Regions from separate parts of the Homo sapiens genome. Here all the other regions are linked to region 3. The links are contacts of gene promoters, found by promoter capture Hi-C in human tissues and cell types (Jung and others, 2019). All regions are on one chromosome and are shown on one strand. The core of a region is centred on a gene start or on the middle of the fragment in contact, and the rest is flanking DNA. Distances in the headings are between cores, read along the strand shown.

Region 1 (2,700 bases), core at 198-2,697, 1.0 Mb before region 3:
TATATTTATCATGTACAATCATGTACAACATGTTGTAAAATATGTATAATTGTGAAATGCCTGAATCTAACTGATTAACATTACCTCATATACTTATTTTTTTTGTGGTGAGAACACTTAAAATCTCTTGGTACTTTTCAAGAATATAATACATTGTTATGAACTATAGGCACCATGTCATATCTGGTTTACTGACAGTTTTTATCAAGAATGGGTGTTGGATTTTGTCAATGCTTTCTCTGCATCTTTTGATATGATCATGTGATTTTTCTTCTTTAGCTTGTTGATGTGATGCATTACATTTATTTGATTTTTTAATGTTGCCATGCATGCATGGAGTAAATTCCACTTTGTTGTGGTATATAATTATTTTTAGACATCGTTGGACTTGAATTGCTAATATTTTGTTGAGCATTTTTTTTTTTGAGACAAAGTCTCACTCTGTTACCCAGGCTGGAGTTCAGTGGTGCTATCTTGGGTTCAAGTGATTCTCCTGCCTCAGCCTCCTGAGTAGCTGAGATTACAAGCATGCGCCACCACGCCCGGCTAATTGTTGTATTTTTAGTAGAGATGGGGTTTCACCATGTTGGTTAGGCCGGTCTCGCACTCCTGACTTCAAGTTTTCTGCCCACCTCGGCCCCCCAAAGTGCTCGGATTACAGGCATGAGCCACCGCACCCGGCCGTTGAGCATTTTTATATCTGTGTTCATGAGACATATTGGCCTGTAGTTTTCCATTCTTGTTATGTCTTTATCTGGTTTTGATATTAGTGTAATGCTGGACTCAGGGAATGAGGTAGGAAGTATTTTCTTTGGTTCTCTCTTCTGAAAAAGATTGTAGAGAATTGGTATAATTTCTTTCTTCAGTGTTTAGAATTCACCAGCCATCTAGGCCTGGTGCTTTCTGTTTTGGAAGGTTATTACTTATTGATTCAATTTTTAAAATAAATATAGTCCTGTTCAGATTCCTCTTGTGTGAGTTTTGGCAGATTGTGACTTTCAAGGAATTGCTCTATTTCATTTAGGTTATCAAATATGTGGACACAGAGTTGTTCATAGTATTCCTTGGTTATCCTTTTAATATCTAGGGGATTCATAGTGATTTCCCCTCTTATATTTCTTATAATAGTAATTTGTATTGTCTCTTATTTTCTTAGTTAGCCTGCTTATTATTTTTATTGATCTTTTCAAAGAACCAGCTTTTGGTTTCATTGATTTTCGCCATTGATTTTCTGTTTCAATATCATCGATTTCTGCTCTAATTTTTATCATTTATTTTCTTCTATTTACTTTGGATTTTGTTTGCTCTCCTTTTCTTAGGTTCCTAAGGTGGAAGCTTAGAGAATTGATTTTAGATCTTTCCTCTTTTCTAATCTATGTATTCAATGCTATAAATTTCCCTCTAAATGCTGCTTTTGCTGCATCCCACAGATTTTGATAGGACGTGCTTTCATCTTCATTTGATTCAAACTATTTTAAAATTTCTCTTGAAATTTCTTCTTTGACCCATCTATTATTTAGAAGTGTGCTGTTTAACCTCCAAGTATTTTAAGATCTCCCAGCTATCTTTGTTACTGATTTCTAGTTTAATTCCACTGTGGTCTGAGAACAGACATTGTATCATATCTATTCTTTGAAATTGATTAAGGTGTGTTTTATGGCTCAGGTGTGGTCTGTCTTGCTGACTGTTCTGTGTGAGCTTAAGGAGAATATATATTCTCCTAATGCTGGATGAGGTAGTCTGTACATGTCCATAGTATCCAGTTCATTGATGATGGTGTTGAGTTAACCAAGCCCTTATTTATTTTCTGCCTGCTAGACGTGTCCATTTTTTTCTATCCAAATGTTATCCTCTATTTTTCCTTGAAAAGTCAGGTATCTTTCCAGGAAAGTACATCTAACATCATACAATTTAGAAAATGTGAACCAGAGGGTGGTCCCCAAACACCTGTGAGGATAGCCTCCAAGAGAGCAGGAATGCTAGTGATAGCATTTTGGATTTGGCATGTGACATGGGAGCCTGAATATGGATTTCAACCGAAGAAGAGGAAGCTTTGAGAAATTTGAGATCAGTTCAAAATGAAAACGTCAAGAGATAGCTGGAAACTGTTGCTGTTTAACATTCATATATATAAAGACAGTATTAACATTTCTGATCCTCATATTCTGGAAAAATCACAGAGCAGCTTTTGCTAAAAGGGTAATTATCTTTGTGAGGAATTGTTTGACTGGCTGGAGTAGAAATCTGCTTAAGTTATCACAAGTCAAAGATAGAACTGATCTTATATCCCAAGGATGGGAAGTGTAACCAGGCCCCAGGAGGGGTAACAATCAGGACCTGGAGAGTCAGAAGAAGAGTGTTATGGGCTGAGCTATGCCCCCTTAGATTCATATGTTGAAGTCCTAACTGCAGAACCTCAGAATGTGACTGTATATGGAGGTTGGGCCTTTAAAGAGCTGATTAAGGTAGAATGAGGTCATATAGGTGGGCCCTAATCCAGTGTGACTGGCAGGTTAGGAGAGAGACATGCACAGAGGGAAGACCATGTAAGCACCCGGGGAGAAGGTAGCCACCTGCAAGCCAAGGAGATAGGCCTCAGTAGAAAGAAACCCTGTTGACACCTTCATCTCAGACTTCCAGCTTTCAGCACTATAAGAAAATAAATGTCTGTTGCTTAAGCTGCCGTATCAGTGGTACTTT
Region 2 (2,700 bases), core at 170-2,669, 1.1 Mb before region 3:
CTGGGAGAACAGGGGAGTCTCCCTGTGACATGAGAACCAGAGGAAGTAGAGAGGTGAAGGTGTAAGGAGGCCCTTTCCCTCCTGACCAGTGGTTCTTCATGGGGGTGGAAGCACCCACAGGGAGCATTCTAGACGTATATTGGGGTGTTTTCTCTTGTCATAACAACTGGATTGGAGGGCACTACTGGCATTTAAGTGAGGGAAGGGGAATAGTCAGGGGGGCTAGATATCTTGCAGTGTGCCCAGAGAAGGGTCGTCCTAGGCGGGATGAGGTGACTCACACTTGTAATCCTAGCACTTTGCGTGGCTGAGGTGGTGGATCACTTGAGTCCAGGAGTTTGAGACCAGCCTGGCCAACATGATGAAACCCTGTCTCTACTAAAAATACAAAAATTAGCCTGTCATGGTGGCATGTGCCCGTAATTCCAGCTACTCGGGAGGCTGAGGTGGGAGAGTCGCTTGAACCGAGGAGGCAGAGGTTGCAGTGAGCTGAGATCTCGCCACTGTACTCCAGCCTGGGTGATGGAGTGAGACTCCATCTCAGAAAAAGAAAAAAAAAAAGAGTCATCTCTCCTGCTACAGGACTTCCAAGTAAGAGTCCTCTGAAACATTCACGTGGGTAAAAAAATCTGTTTATCATTATCTAAGGCTAGAAGTACATGTTTTACACATAAACACAATACTTTTACATATAAAGCAGTATTTTTTAAGTTTTTAAAATATTTTTTAAAAGTTAATATAACTATTAATTGACAAATCATAATTATCATAATTACATTGACAGAGTACACCGTGTTGTTTTGATATATGTATACTAAAGCAGTATGTTTTTAGGGTTGTTTTACCATCAACTGAATTTTTTTTTAGGAATGAAACCACAGTAGAAATCAAGACTGGGCTGGGCACAGTGGCTCACGCCTATAATCCCAGCACTTTGGGAGGCCGAGGGCAGTGGATCATTTGAGGTCAGGAGTTTGAGACCAGCCTGCCTAACATAGCGAAACCCCATCTCTACTGAAAATACAACAAATTAGCCGGATGTGGTGGCACATGCCTGTAATTCCAGCTACTCGGGAGGGTGAGGCAGGAGAATCACTTGAACCCAGGAGGTGGAGGTTGCAGTGAGCCGAGATCGCACCACTGCACTGGGTGAGAAAGGGAGAGTCTGTTTCAAAACAACACAAAGAAAATAAAAATAAAATAAAGACTGCATTTTATTTGGAGATTTTCAATGCATTTTTTATCTTTGATCATTGCATTGAGGGAGTGCCACTCAAGGGACTGGAGTCATGAATAGAACCCACCTGTATTTGTCCGTGTTTTAGCAGTTGCTTCTATGTAGAGCATCTGACTACTTCATTATATATTTTGTAGTATATATGTACCTAAGCTTTATATATTGAAATAGATATTATTTTGTTATAAGTTGGTTTCTTATTATTTCTTTTTTGTATTACCATTAGAGAAGTATATCAGTTTTTAAAAATATACGGTTAGGGGAGTGACAACCACAAGTAGTGATTCTCATTTCAAGAAATTAAATGGCTACAAAACTGGTGTCCAGAATATATAAAGAACCCTTGCAACTCAGCAATAAAAAGACAAGTAACACAATTTTAAAATGTTCAAAGGATTTGAATAGACATTTCTTCAAAGAAGATATATAAATCACCAATGAGCATATGAAAATGTACTCAACTTCATTGGTCATTAGAGAAATGCAAATAGAAGTCACACCCATTAGGATGGCTAAAATAAAAAAAGATGAACAATAACAAATGTTGGCAAGTATGTGGAAAAATTAGAACCCTCATACACTGTGGATGGGAATGTAAAATGGTGCAGACACTTTGGAAAGTTGGCTATTCCTCAGAGATTTACCATATGACACAGCAATTCTACTCTTAGGTGTATACCCAAGACAATTAAAAAGATATATACAGGCCGGGCGCGGTGGCTCAGGCCTGTGGTCCCAGCACTTTGGGAGGCCGAGGCGGGTGGATCGCGGGGTCAGAAGATCGAGGCCGTCCTGGCTGATACGGTGGAACCCCGTCTCTACTAAGAGTACGAAAAATTAGCCGGGCGTGGTGGGGGGCGCCTGTGGTCCCAGCTACTTGGGAGGCTGAGGCAGGAGAATGGCGTGAACCTGGCGGGCGGAGCTTGCAGTGAGCCGGGATTGCGCCACTGCACTCCACCCTGGGCGACGGAGCGAGACTCCGTCTCAAAAAAAAAAAAAAAAAGATATATACACAGAAAAACTTGTACATAGATGTTCATAGTAGTATTCCAATACACATGCCCATCAGTAGATGAATGGATAAGCAAAACGTGGTATATTAATAAATGAAATATTATCCAGCCACAAAAAGCAATGAAGTACTGATACATGATCCAATATGGATGGACCTTGAAAACTATACTAAATGAAAGAAACCAGCCACAAAAGGCCACATAGTACATGATTACATTTGTATAAAATGTCCAGAATTAGCAATTCCATAAAGACAGAAAGTAGATTAGTAGTTGCCAAGGGCTGAGGGAAGGAGGAATGGGAGTGACTGCTGCTAATGGGTACAGGGTTTCTTTTTGGGGTGAGAAAAGTGTTCTGGAATTACATAATGATGATAGTTGTATAACTTTGTGAATATACTAAGACACACTGAATTGTATCTTTTAAAAAGTTAAATTTTATGGTACGTG
Region 3 (2,700 bases), core at 165-2,664:
ACACACGCGCACACACTCACACGCTTGCTCGCACACCGCCAGTGCCTCTCCTTCCCACCTGGGACCCCCGGGCAGCCGGGCTGGATGAACAAGTTGCAGCTGGCCGCGGCGCTCCGCTAGGGGGACGAGGGTGGGGAGGGGGAGCCCAGCGGGGCGCAGGGCCGTGGCCAGGGCCTGGGGACCTGCCCGCTTCCCTCCGCGGCCGCCAAGCCCTACCGCTGGGACCGGCGAGGAACTCCCCCCAGCCTCTCCGCAGACGCTGCACGACCGCGGGGACCTCCCGGGGTCGCCAGCCGCGCCGGGCAGGGGGCGACAGGGAGGGCAGGGCACCGGGAGATCGCCGCCGCCGGAGCGGCCGCCAGTTCCCGGCGATCGCTGCGGGCGCAGCCGAACACCAGCGGCCTGGGCCCGGCCGCTGCTCGGGGTCGGCGGGGACCGCGCAGCGCCTACGCCAGGCGGCCCGGCGGCTGCAACTGGGAACTTCAAGCAAAGTTTTCTGCTGTTCCTTTTGCAGCCGGCCAGGGACTCAAGAGTGCAAGCCGCCCAACCTTGAGCACTAGCCCAGGCCGCGGAAGGACGGCGGCCGAGCTGGCAGTCCCGGCTGGGGAGCTCGCCCTCGGGGTCCGTCCGCTCCGCCCGCCCGAGGACTGGGTGCCTGCCAGCCCCACGGCCCCTCGCCCAGCGCCCGGCTCACAGGCAGAAGCGGTGTCCGGCCCGCCGCGCCCCCCGCCCGGCCCCGACGCCAGCCTTAGGGCTCTACCACCAGGGAGCTGTCGGCGTCCCGGGCGTCCCGCGCCGGCCCGCGCGCCTCGGGGGCGGCAGAGGCGGTCCCGCTTACCTGAGAACGTCTCGCCCGCCGCAGTTAGCAAAAGTCCGGCCAAAGTCGCCAGGCAAGTCCCAAGTCCCCTCATGGTGCTGAGTGCGGGCCGGGCCGCTCCCCGGCGGCGGTGGGTGGGCGCGCGAGGGCGGAGGGGGCCGGGAGCTTTGGTTCCGAGGCAGCGAGGAGAGACGGGTAAACAGCAGAGCGCTAAGCCAAGCCCCCAAAGTGCCAACAGTTGCAGAAGTCCGAACTCCAGCGGCTCCAGGGGCGCGGGCACAGGGTCCTGGGTCCTCCTCCCCTGTCCCTGGCCCCACTCGGCGTCTGGCGCCGCTGGCAGAGGGAGCGGAGGGCGAGCCCGCGGAGCCAAAATCTTCCCTCGGTTCCGGTTGCTGAGCTCGCCGCCTCTCCCCTTCCCCTGCCCGGGACCCGGGACCCGAGCTGCCGGCCGTGGCCGTGGCGGTGGCCGTGGCCGTGGCCGCGCGCGTTCCGCCCGCCGCCTCTCCACAGGCAGCCCCAAGCCCAGCCCCGGGCGGCGGCGCGCCGATGACCGAGCCCGCGCCGGCTGCGCGCGGGGCTCTTGCTCCCCGACTGACTGGCGGTGCCCCGCAGGCCGGCTGAAGGGAGCGCTCACGTCACGGCCGCCCGGCGCCGCCGCGGCCCGCTAGAGGGCGTGAGCGCCCGTGCCCCGCCGGCCCGCGCCCGAGCGCCTCCGGGAGCTCGGCTGGGGGCGGCCCCGCGGCCACAGCCACTACCGCCGCCGAAGCGGGCGTCAGCCGCGCGGGGAGGAGCGGCCACCGGGCTCCCCCCGCCCACCTCCTCGCCCCGGCCGCGTCTTCTATTTTGGTAGCTGGCTCTGGGGAGGGTGACTGTGGAAGAGGCTGCGCCGCCGCCAGAAGTTTGTCCCGGGTCACGAGCCGCGAGTAGTTTGTGAGCGCGGCCGGGCGGGACCAGCGGCCTGCGACCCCGCGGGCGCGGCCAGGCGGCTTCGAGCCTGGCGCCGGACGGCGATGTCACCGCACAGGGCCAGCTGCACCCGGAGTCGCCGGGCCTGCGCTGCTCGGCGGCTGCGGGAAAAGCGAGCCAGGAGATCGCTGAGGCTCCGGAGGGCTGCGAGCTTCTCTACGCCGCGGGCGGAGCGAAGTTGGCGGGCGCCGGGAGATGGCGCGGGAGCCGGGAGCGCCGAGCCCCGCGATCGCCAGCCCGCTCCCGGCCGGGCCCGCCGGGTACACGCCGCTGGCCCCGAGCACTGGCGCCCGGGAAGCAGGGCGCGCTTCTGCTGTTCTGCGTCCTCATCATGCCTCGGTGTCCCGTGTGGGCCCGAAGCGAGCCGCAGGCAGTACACGGAAGGCGGTGGTCACACCAAAACCAGGGTTTGGACATAACCCGTGGTTTCTGTATCTGGTGCAAAGTGCTGAGAAACAGGGGAGAAAGAGAAGTGGGGGGTGAATCAAGTAATGTCTTGAAATATTTTAGTTTTACGATTTTGGGTCTGAGTGAATTAAAAAAACCTTACAATGCTTCAGCAAAAAATAATTTTTTTATTTTAATTGTAAATTTTTTTGTAAGTGATCCTTCTATCTTCCAGGGAATAAGCACATTGAGCCAGCACCAACCAGACAGCTGTAAGCTCCTGGCCTAGCTAACTGAACGCAATAGAAGGCTTGGGAAGAGGTTAAATTAGGAACCAAAGTAACTGAGTGACAGGGTTCTAGCAATGATTCTGGCTAGAAGGCAAACCGGTGATACAGAGGCACCCAGGAGCTCTCCTGCACTTTTTCCGCAAGAGGGGTCCTCTGCTTAGTGCTCACTGCTTTCTAGTGCTTATAAACACGTAAAAAAATAAATGGATTCCACACTCATCTTGACCCTGTTCTCCACTG

Evidence for each region. Contacts are between HindIII fragments. The study calls those that stand out against the background at their distance.
Region 1: a contact is called between a fragment that was not itself captured here and the fragment with the promoter of PTPRM in region 3, in 1 of the 25 tissues and cell types used here (lymphoblastoid cells).
Region 2: a fragment that was not itself captured here is called in contact with the fragment with the promoter of PTPRM in region 3 in 1 of the 25 tissues and cell types used here (dorsolateral prefrontal cortex).

Annotation. Positions count from the first base shown.
Region 1 is chr18:8,589,104-8,591,803 of GRCh38, reverse strand. No RefSeq gene overlaps it. Among named protein-coding and RNA genes, the nearest start is that of RAB12, 19 kb to the left of the region's middle. The HindIII fragment of the contact is 4,842 bases long and covers 1-2,700 here.
Region 2 is chr18:8,697,232-8,699,931 of GRCh38, reverse strand. The region is part of intron 1 of GACAT2 (gastric cancer associated transcript 2); the gene reads left to right. Among named protein-coding and RNA genes, the nearest start is that of MTCL1, 7.0 kb to the left of the region's middle. The HindIII fragment of the contact is 4,689 bases long and covers 1-2,700 here.
Region 3 is chr18:7,566,030-7,568,729 of GRCh38, reverse strand. PTPRM (protein tyrosine phosphatase receptor type M) reads right to left here and starts at 1,414. Exons shown (of 33, transcript NM_001105244.2): 1 at 839-1,414. The coding sequence starts at 911. RefSeq lists a silencer at 1,364-1,733. The HindIII fragment of the contact is 7,623 bases long and covers 1-2,700 here.